Regions from separate parts of the Homo sapiens genome. Here all the other regions are linked to region 2. Evidence: promoter capture Hi-C in 16 types of primary human blood cells and fetal thymus (Javierre and others, 2016). All regions are on one chromosome and are shown on one strand. Each heading gives the region's core, a stretch centred on a gene start or on the middle of the fragment in contact. The rest is flanking DNA. Distances are from core to core; before and after follow the strand shown.

Region 1 (3,726 bases), core at 55-2,554, 110 kb before region 2:
CATGAGCAATATTTTCACATCATTAAAAACTCTGCCAAAATACCACTTTTAGTCTTTACATACCAACTCATCATATGGTTGTACCACATTTTTTCAAGCATTTTCTCACTGCTGGACATTCAGGTTTTTCTAACCTTTTGCTCTTTTAAACGATGCTATATGCCCAAGACTTCCATAAGCACATAAAGACTTTGTGAGATTAGAAGAAGTTATCCCAGTCTAATATAAAAACGTTTATGAACTATTATTTTATTACACAACCTCAACAACTACACAATATAGCTCTGCCTGGGTTGGGGTTTAAGAACCCCAGCAAGCAAACACCCTGGCTGTGCATACACATGCCCCTGCACACAAGGGTCACGCTCTTGCCTACTGACAAACATAATCCCTGAACATTAAGGCACATAAACATACCTAAGCCAGTGCCAGGCACCCTTGCCCCAAATTTCTCAAATGAGACTACCAGATCAGTTTCTGTCAGACTGGAGTGGTGGGCAAGTTAGCGAAAGACATCACCTCAGGGGATGCCTGGAGTCTGGAGCTCAGTCTGGACAAGACCATGCTGTAACCACCTGCATGGACAGAGTGTCCTCACAGGAGCTCTCCAGAGTCTTCGCATGCCATAGGTGCTAGTATGGGTTTATGTACCAGGCAACTTACTGTAACCTGGAACTCCTGGCTCCAAGATGTGGCCAGAAGGCCCAGAATCCCTTCACTCACCCACGGTCTTCTCAAAGTGACATGTCTATCTCATGTCTGATACACCCACAGGTGTGGCACCCCTTGTGCAGAGGGCCATGTGAACACCTTGAATAATTATCTTAGCTATGAACATATATCTTTGTTGAAATAACTTAAAAATGTTTAGGATACATCAAGGTCTTTATACCTAGTGCCAAATTGCTGTCCAAAGATACATTCTAATTAACACTACCATCAGAATGATGCACTGGCCAACTTCACAGCATCCTTGACAAGTGGTGCCTTCTTTCACTTTTTTTTTTTTTTTTTTTTTTTTTTTAAAGAGACAAGGGCCAGGTGCAATGGTTCCTGCCTATAATTCCAACGCTTCAGGAAGCTGAGGTGGGAGGATCACTTAAGACCAGGAGTTTGAGAACAGACAAGACAACATAGCAAGACCATATACACACAAAAATTAAAATGAACAGCCAGGTCTAGTAACATACAACTGTCGTCTCAGCTACATGTGTGGCTGAGACAAGAGGATGGCTTAAGCGCAAGAGTTCAAGGCCACAGTGGGCTATGAGTGCCACTGCACTCCAACATGGGCAACAGAGCAAGACCCTAATTCTAAAAACAAACAAGAGAAACACGGTCTCGCTCTGTCGCCCAGGCTGGAATGCAGTTGTACAATCATAGCTCACTGTAACCTTGAACTCCTGGCCTCAAGGTGTTCTCCCTCCTTGGCCTCCAAAAGCGCTGGAATTATAGGCATGAGCCACCTTGCCCGGCCTCTCTCCCATTGTTTTGTTAACTACTGAGGCCAGCTATTTTTTCCTCCACAATTGTGTAACTTAGTCCTTCCCATTTTCTATCAAGGCCTTATGTATTTTTAAGGAAATAACTATCAAATCTGAACTTCCTTGATCAGATACTCAATATAAATGTATAAAGTGAGGTACAGTCTTTTAAAATTGTCCCTTTCTACTCAGCTGCCTTTTTCTAAGTACTTCCTATGTTTTAGACACTGTACTGCATGATATATTTCACATAAGCCTGTGAACCTAATAGGTTAAAATTAAACCCTTTTCATTGATGAGCAATCAGAGGCTTTAAAAGGTTAAGTAGTTTGTCCAAGGTCATGACTAGAGGGTAAGGAATTGGGAAAAGGAGCGGAAGGGACAGAAATGAGGAAGGGAACAGAGGGAGAAAATTACTTTTCAGGAAACAATCTTGTTCAATATTTATTATAATATTCCTTTCTGTAGATGTGATTTCTTGTAAAACAAATACTACTTTTCCACTAACTTCTTTTATTGTAAAATTAAAAATGATTCTTTAAAAAAATAACCCACGGCCGGACGCGGTGGCTCACACCTGTAATCCCAGCACTTTGCGAGGCCAAGGTGGGCGAATCACGAGGTCAGGGGTTCAAGACCAGCCTGACCAACATGGTGAAACCCTGTCCCTCCTAAAAATACAAAAATTAGCCCGACTGTGGTGGTGTGCAAAAAAAAAACAAAAATAAAAACAAACAAAACCTACAACAGCAATAATGCTGTTTTCAATTATGAAAAACCTGAGGCAAGGGCTAAATTAAAAGGCTCACCAGGCTTTGAGGACATTATACAGAACCTTCTTACTTCTGGATCTCCTGGTTACTGTCAATATCTTGCCCTGATTACTGACCATCTACAATGGGACTTTTCTGATACTTCAACTCAGCTAAGTTTTGGAACATACAGCCATGGAGAGACTGTAAAATGCATTTTTGATGGCAGGTGCTGCAATCGTGCTAACCTAAAGATTCCACAGGTTTAAGATACGTTCTGTGAAAACAAGTAAGTACCTTATTTTGCAGCTCTATAAGCTCAAACTCTGTAAAATTAAATGCTAGTTAAAAGAAAGAATTTTTAGTGTTCATTTAATCTACCCCACATGTTCAAACCCCCTTATAACATTTACACACATAATTTTAAAGGAATGGTAAATACAAACAGAGGTAATAACATAAGGCAAATAAAGCTTTACAGTTTATATATATACACGCTCCAAATTTACCCCAGGTTCGATTTCATAAAAGATCAAATAGTTGAATTTATACATCCTGCTAAATATATATATATATGCTCCAAAATTATCTGAAGTTGCAAACTGCACTAGCACTGAAATGACCATTCCTTCCAGCTTCTCACCTGCTTCACCACTCCCCCAGTACCACTCTCTCCACCTCTAGTCCAATGCTGCAGTTATCTGAAATTACAAAGTTTTTTTTTTTTTTTAATTATGACCAAGTTTGGCTTACCTGAGAAGTGCAAGGTTGGTTCAGAATACCTACTGTTTTCACCACCCTAACAGATTAAAAGAAAAAAGCCATATAATTACCTCAAAAGATGCACAGATGCACTCTGGGGTTGGGGGAAGGGGAGGACTGGGAACAGAGAAGGTGCATTTCAATGAAAACAAAGACTTGGGTTTTTTAAATTTGCCTTTATTTTTATTTTTTTATTTTAGAGACAGGGTCTTATTAGGATGCCCAGGCTGGGGCTTTCTTTTCTTGCAAGTCATTTTTTTTTCAAACAATTCTATATGATAATCAACAGGATGAACTAATGAAGGCATATTAAAGAGTGGTTCAGGTAAAATGATTCAGTGAATTCCTAATCTGTGTGTCATGTTTACGGTGACAGAAAACAAGTGTGTTCTCTACTGCTGTTAAAGTTATCTCTACTGCTGATAAATTTAAATACAAAGCGCAAAAGTGAATCCTACAATGCAATACCATGACTTTCAGGAATCTGCTTCACTTTTTTTTTTTTTTTTTTTGAGACGGAGACTGCTCTGTCACCCAGGCTGGAGTGCAGTGGCATGATCTAGGCTCACTGCAAGCTCCGCCTCCTGGGATCACATCATTCTCCGGCCTCAGCCTCCCACGTAGCTGGGACTACAGGCGCCGGCCACCACGCCCGGCTAATTTTTTGTATTTTTAGTAGAGACAGGGTTTCACCGTGTTAGCCAGGATGGTCTTGAACTTCTGACCTC
Region 2 (3,490 bases), core at 342-2,841:
CACCTGGCGGTGGCAATCAAAATGACGCCTTCTTTTTATTTTTCCCCCAGTGCAATCTTCCAAGAATGGGAGAGTCTCAAAGTCAGAGTTTAAGCCCTTTTTCACAAGGGAGTCAGTATTTTCACAAGATGGTCTTCCTCAGAGAGGGGAGGAGTCCATCCAACCCAGATAGCAAAATTGCTCCCTGGAGATCCTGGATGGATGTTACAGGGCAAGGAAGCCAAAATGTGGAAGCACACCGACTCACCTCTCAAAATTCACCACCCACTCGTTCATCTCACAATTATCTATGGGGTGCTTCCCACGTGCTTCAACGCACCCTTTCTAGGTGCTGGGGATGCAGAAATTCAAGGTGACTGGCAATGACACTTTCTATCACTGCGCCCCCTGCAGGCCAGGAAATCTACGCTCGTTTTCTCAAGGCCCCACTCGCAGCAGCCCATTTCACAGACGGGACCCTAAGACTCAGAGAGGGTAAGCGACTTGCCCAAGGTCACACAGCTAGTAAGCGGCAGGGCCAGGAATTAAACATAGCTGCAAAGTGCATGTGACACTCCCCCGCAGCCCCAGCTCTATCCCTCCGCACCCCTCCACCTCTTGCAGCAGGGTGGGTAGCAAAGGCACACTCCAAGTAGCTCCAGCATGGTAAGACCTCGATTCCTCCTTCGTTCCACTCCTGACACAGGACACACGTTTCAAAGGACACACAGGTTTTTCCCAACCCCAGTGTGTGTGTACACAGCCCCAGGAAAGCCCTGCAGGCTGCAAGGGCACCCACCCGCTAACACTGAACTTCCATTTAAAAAGAAAGATAATGAAAAGATAAAAGGCGAAGAGGAAGTGCTCTTTAAACACAGGCGGGTGGCTACCCCAGGAGGAAGTCTTGAGGCCAGTGGAGATTTTGTTCACCCCCTCTAGTTCCTCAAATCCAATGCGACTGGTCTTCCAAGCCCCTGATGGGAGGTGGCCGGGGGCCAGCGCTGCTCCCGGGGTCAGTCCCCGCACCGACACCCGGCTCGCAGGAAGGGTCTGCCAGGGACCAGCCACCCCGACCCGAGCGCCCCCTGCCTCGAGGCGCACAAGGCGCCGGCTCCGCAGCTGGGTGGACCCGGGCGGCGGCCCCGCTGCGCGCTCCCCTCGCGTCCGCCCGCCGCCCCCCGCGCACTCGAGGCGCCTCCCCCGGGACCCCCGCGCCCGCCGGCCCGGACGCCCCCACCACGGCGGCGCCCCCTGTCCACCCGCCGCAGCGCCCGGCCCGGCGGCCCGGATGGTACCTCCGCCTCTCCCCGCACCCATCACGCGCGCGCCCCGCACCCCGCGCCCTCTCCGGGGGCAAATCGGATCCAGGGGCGCGCGCGCGGGCCGGCCGGGCGGCGGCGCCTTCAGAGCCCCGGCACGTACCTGGCGGCCCGGGCGGGCGAGGGGAGCGCGGCGCGGGAGCGCAGGAGCCTCGGAGCCTCCGGTGCCGCCGCCGCCGCCGTTTCCGGGTTGGCGGGGCTCACGTCACCGCCACAGGTTTGCGAGCTGCCCCCGCCGCGGCGGCAGCAGCAGCAGCAGCAGCAGCCCGGGCGAGTGCCAGGCGAGAAATAACTATAAAAGGAAGAGGCGCGGCGAGGAGGAAGAGGAAGCGCTGTTTACCTTCGAGAAGCCGAGCCGCCGGCGCTCGCACAAAAGGAGGACGCTCGCCTCGCGACGCGCCTCCCCCCGCGCCCAGTCCCCGCCGCATCGCGGGGCCCCGGCGTCAGCGCGCGCCGCGCCCCGGGACCGCCCCGCGCCGGCCCCCACCCCAGAACCCCGCGCCCGCCTGGCCCGTGTCCTCCCGAGCCGGGGCGCCACGGGCCCGGGACGGTGGTGACCTTGGGCAAGTCACCGCGGGGCGCGCTGCGATTGGGGGTCATCGCCCTCATTGTGCGAGGAGGAAACCCGGCTCCGAGAGGCGCAAGAGTGACCCCCAAGGTCACTGCCTGTCAGGCAGGGCTTGGGCTCGAACCCCGGTCTCCAGACCTTCAGGCCGGCCAGGTTCCCATCCCTGGGTCGCTTCCCCCTCACCTGGACTTCAGGAATGGTGACAGCCCCTGCCTGGCTCACCTCGCAGCGGGGTCAGTGAGAGGAATGCTGTCCACGCACCCATTCAGCCCTCCCGCAGATACTTACTGGGCCTACTAAGTGCCCGGGCTGTTCTAGGCCCTGGAGCTGCAGCTGCGAACCAAAACAAAATCCCTGCCCGGGAGGGGCAGCGGGGACAGGCCGTAAATATCTGATGGGTCCTATGGTGCTAAGTGCTGTGCCAGAGGAAAAATAAAGCGGGGTGAGGGGACGGTGCGGGCTGTCGGTGCTACCCTAAGCGGTTCTCCAAGGACTTTAAATTTAGTACAGAAATTCCCACATAAAAAGCTCCTCGCCATAATTCCAGTTTCAGGTATTATGGGAGACCTCATCTTTCCCCTGATCTAGAATGGAAAATACTGTGTTTTTCTCCCTGTAACAGGACATGCCTAGGAAACTGATACTCTCCTTCCCTCTGCCTTGCTCCCCTGGCCCAGAAGCCCATCCTATCATTATCTTGACATTCAACCAGAAATTTCTCGGGAAGATAGACAACATTCTCTCAAGTATCTTTCTGCTGTCCTCTAGCAGGGTATCAAAAGGGTTACATCAAAGGCTTCCATTGTCTTTCCACCTCCACCTCCAGCTATAGGGGGGTTGGAGTGTGCTCACATCATACTCAGTGCTGAGTTACCTGATTAGGAGCCAGTTGTTCCATTTCTTTTCTTTTTTCTTTCTTTTTTTTTTTTTTGTCTAAGACAGGATTTTGCTCTGTTTCCCAGGCTAGGTAGCGCAGTGATGCGATAGCTCACTGCAGCCTCAAATTCCTGGGCTCAAGCGATCCTCCCACCTCAGCCTCCCGAGTTGCTGGGACCACGGGTATGCACCACCATGCTCAGCTAATTTTTATAGATTTTTGTAGAGGTGGGTCTCCCTGTGTTGCCCTGGCTGGCCTGTTTCTCCTGGGCTCAAGGGATCCTCCCTGCCTCCGCCTCCCAAAGTGTGGGGATTACAGGCATAAACCACCACACCCAGCCCGCCAATTCTTTAACAAAGGTGCCTTGCGCCTTCTCTTGGCCAGGCCCAGTTCTCGGAGCTGGGGACCCTGAGATGGTGCCATTTCAGCAGTACTCCCTGGACTGCTCTCTAAGCTTACCCGAGCGCCAGTGCCTTCATTCCTAAAGGAAGGGAACTAATGTCCACCTTGCTGTGGGGGCTGAGAAGTAGGTGGGGAAACACTGGGTCCTGAACTATGACCTTGAGGAGAAGCAGGAAAAGGGTTTGGAAGCAGGCAGAGCTGAGCCGCTTATAAAATGAGCATTAACAATTCTGAACATTTATAAAGTACTAAGCAGGTGCCAAGTGTGTGCAGGCCCATGAAGCAGGTTTATCATGGCCCAGTGTCATGCATTAAGATACTGCAGCTGGAAGAGAGATGAGATTT
Region 3 (3,854 bases), core at 750-3,249, 110 kb after region 2:
CAACATGGAGAAAACTCCTTCTCTACTAAAAATACAAAAAACTAGTCGGGCATAGTGGCGCATGCCTGTAATCCCAGCTATTCGGGAGGCTGCGACAGGAGAATCACTTGAACCCGGGAGGTGGAGGTTGCAGTGAGCAAAGATCGCATCACTGCACTCCAGCCTAGGCTATGAGAGTGAAATTCCATCTCAAAAAAAAAAAAAAAAAAAAAAAAAAAAGAACATACGATCAATTTAGAAAATAACTCAGATCACGCCACTCCTGTTTAAAACCTCTCAATCACACTTACAATCAAATCCCCAGGCAGTCCATGACCTACACGATCTGGCTCCACCTCTATCTTGCCCAGCATTCCCCTGCATCTCCCTCTTGCTCAGTTCTCTCCCGCCACATCTTCCTTCATGACATAGCTCAAATATGCCTTACTGCCCCTTGGGGCACCCATATGACCTGTTCCAGCTGCCTGGCTGCTTCCCCCCAGGGAGGGTGCCTTCATGCCCCTCAATTCTGCACTTTCCCCACCTTCAACTTGAAAAAAATACCCTCTCCCCATTCCCCACACACTTCAACACCTCCTCTTGTTGTAATTTCTTCATAACACCTAATACAATGTGTAATTGTATGACTGACTTTTTAATTCCCTGTGTTTTCATCTCCTCAGAATGTAAGCAGGACAGAAACTCTGTCTTGTTTGCTACTGTATCTTCAGCACCTACAAGACTGGCTGAAGTAGGGAAGCTGCCTCGTAAGGATTTGATCAACAACTAAATGAGTGATCAAACTGCATGTTACAAGAGGTTCACTTTATGCTTCTGGGTCACTGGCCAAACAAGGAAGTAATAATAGTAGTAGTAGTAAATACTTATACAGCACTTACTACAGACCAATAATAATAATAACAGATACTTATACAGCACTAACTATAGACCAAATGCTGCTCCAAGCACTTTTTATTCAAGCCCCTTAATTGTCACCACAACCCTATGAGGTAGATATATGTTCTGGATGAGGAAACTAAGGCACAGACAATTAAAGTTACTTGTCCAAGGTCACATAGTTTAGGAAGTGGCAGAGCTATGATATGAACTCCAGCAGTCTGGCTTCAAAATCTATGACCCTAACCACTACATTAGAGATATTGGAGAATCACAGACATTTTGAAGGTGAAAGTCTTACAGAGGCCAAATGACTAGATGAGGCACAAAGCTGACCAGGTGGCGCTGATGCTGCTTCCCACATGAGAAACAGGACATAAAAACCCATGTTGTTATGACATTCATCTGGCAGCTGTGCCTTCAAGGTTTGGGTCATGCAAACATTTAAAAAATGCTGGTGTGGACAAGAGTGCACTGTGTATGTGCTTGAGCACTTGCTGTTATCAAGCTGGTAAAGTAAAACTTAGGTCTTATTTGTTCATGGTAGTTTTACAATCAAATTAACTTTTGAAAAGCCTTTTCAGTGTAATTTGTGCTTTTTTTTTCCATCTGCATAGTGTTCTGTTGTGTGGCTCTACCATAGAGTATTTCATCAGATGCCTACAGATGGATACTTGTTTTGTTCCTAATCTTTTTGCATTACAGAATAGGAATAAATTCCCAGGAGTGGGACTGCTGAGTCAAAGGGTAAGTACATTTATAATTTTGGTAAATATGGTTAATTTGTTTTTCATAGTGTACCATTTTGTACTCCCACTGGCAATATTATGAGACAGAATGTCAGTTTCCCCACAGTCTTGCTGAGTGGGTTTTTAAGCATTTGGATTTTTGCCAGGCTAAAAGGAATCTCCCATTGTCTTTGAATGTCTCTTACTCATCACAATATGCCATGTTTTTGAGAGAACTGCCCCCATGACAATCTGTGCTTCACAGAGCAGGTGCGCAGCTGCAACAACCTAGGGGAAGGTGAGGGTGAAAAGAATCTGTGCATCCCGGAAATACATTTCTAAATACTTTTCTTTGTTCTGCTTTCCCCTGACAATGGGGTTTGCTCTGGAAAACAAACAAACAAACAAACAAACACTGTAAAAAACTAAAGACTTTCTTTTATTTTTGAGATGGGGTCTCGCACTGTTGCCCAGGCTGGAGTGCAGGGGTGCGATCTCGGCTCACTGCAAGCTCCGCCTCCCGGGTTCATGCCATTCTCCTGCCTCAGCCTCCCGAGTAGCTGGGACTACAAAGTGCCTGCCACCACGCCCGGCTAATTTTTAAAAAATTTTTAATAGAGACGGGTTTCACCGTGTTAGCCAGGATGGTCTTGATCTCCTGACCTCGTGATCCGTTTGCCTCAGCCTCCCAAAGTGCTGGGATTACAGGCGTGAGCCACTGCACCCAGCCAAAAAAAAAAAAAGAAGTTTTTTGGAAGGGTAGAAAAACAATTATAGAATGGTTTAAAAAAGTTCAATATATCAGAAATACTTACATATCACTTGAAGGGGTGGGTTTTGGTGAGGGGCTGGGTAAATTTGCTTCCATAATATCATTAAAACTATTGTTTCCTACATTCTTGGCCAGCTGTAACAGAAAAAACAAACAACCACAATATAGCAAACTCTTTGCTACTAGTTAAAAGTCTCCTATTATTTGTTTTTGAGATTTATGAATATGTATTTTCCCTCATTTGACTTAGAATACAAACCACCGTCCATCTGGTCTACAAATATTTACTGAGCATCTACTACGTGCCAAGCACCAAACTAAGTGCTGGAAATACAGAGATGGGTAAACTATGTTCCCTTTCCATAGATGCTCATAGTCTAGTGGGGCCATTGACAAGGAAATCAATCATGTCTACAAATATGTGATAAATGCTAGAACAGAATCTGGTTCTACACACATATAAACTATATGAGATTACAGAGAGCAGGCTCCATATGTGAGTCTAGGTTAAACTTTTAATAAACAGCAATAGCTTATCAACCACCATCATGTTTCCTTTTTATATTGAACAAATTTACTCCCAGGACAGAAAAGGACACAGGATTACTTTATATCTGGATACAGATTAAGATGCTGCAGGCAGCAGAGGACCCAGGAACCATTTTGCTTCTGGGTTCAAGAGCATTCTAAGAAAATTTGTTCTGAAGGGCCTCTAATCATTTTATGTAATTTTGGGATGCAAAGTTTAAGAAACATACATGCAACCATGTCTTTGAGGGAAAAAGTCTTGGGTTTATTGCATGGCAAACGTTTAGGATTTGGACTTTCCTCTTTCTTGTTGTCAAACTGGGTTTCATTAATACAGGTCAAGGAGATGAGGGACATCATTTCTGCACTAAAGAATGTGTTACAGGTAATAGGTCTGTGTCTTTTCTCTACAATCCTGAAGTGAACTAGGGAGCCGAGTATCAGCATGGTAACTTCCTACATTCTAAATTAGAAGGAATGTCTTGTATTGTGCATAGAACACAAGACAGATCACGATTGCTTAGTGAACGCTCAGATGACCAGGGCTGCTGGCTGGGTCACTAACTGCCCTTTTTGGTTAAGGCTAATGATAAGCTAGACTTTCAGCTTTTTTTTGAGCCCAGGTTCATTCAGGTTCTGCTCAAGGGTGAGCCTCCTGTCTGAGAAGTCATACTTTATTTTAAAAATTTCACTCTTAGTACAAAGACTCTCTCACAGTGCACCAGGTGTTAAAATTATGCAAAATGGGGCATTTGTCCAGTAGGCATCCTACTTGGGGGATGCCAAGTAGGCTCCCCTTCTGTATTTTGGTATATCTCGGGGAGCAATTTGGACCTGATGACAACTCCAAATCTGGGTGACTCATGATGGGAAGGGCAGAGGTTAAAGGAAAACAAGTTTAAGTGTACATAACCCCTTTTTTGGATTAAGAAGCTAAGCACCACAACTTC

Evidence for each region. Contacts are between HindIII fragments. The CHiCAGO score rates a contact against its expected background, and 5 or more counts as called.
Region 1: a contact is called between a fragment that was not itself captured here and the fragment with the promoter of CYRIB in region 2, in 14 of 17 cell types (total CD8 T cells, naive CD4 T cells, neutrophils and 11 more). The highest score is 16.7, in total CD8 T cells.
Region 3: a contact is called between a fragment that was not itself captured here and the fragment with the promoter of CYRIB in region 2, in 1 of 17 cell types (neutrophils). The highest score is 6.1, in neutrophils.

Annotation. Positions count from the first base shown.
Region 1 is chr8:129,909,481-129,913,206 of GRCh38, forward strand. The region is part of intron 2 of CYRIB (CYFIP related Rac1 interactor B); the gene reads right to left. Among named protein-coding and RNA genes, the nearest start is that of MIR5194, 97 kb to the right of the region's middle. The HindIII fragment of the contact is 2,805 bases long and covers 1-2,707 here.
Region 2 is chr8:130,014,969-130,018,458 of GRCh38, forward strand. It overlaps CYRIB (CYFIP related Rac1 interactor B), which reads right to left and starts at 1,592. Exons shown (of 14, transcript NM_001353258.2): 1 at 1,402-1,592. RefSeq lists silencers at 885-1,154, 1,345-1,534, 1,625-1,694, 1,745-1,804. The HindIII fragment of the contact is 5,812 bases long and covers 1-3,195 here.
Region 3 is chr8:130,121,594-130,125,447 of GRCh38, forward strand. It overlaps ASAP1 (ArfGAP with SH3 domain, ankyrin repeat and PH domain 1), which reads right to left. Exons shown (of 30, transcript NM_018482.4): 18 at 2,420-2,511. Among named protein-coding and RNA genes, the nearest start is that of ASAP1-IT2, 39 kb to the left of the region's middle. The HindIII fragment of the contact is 6,155 bases long and covers 1-3,854 here.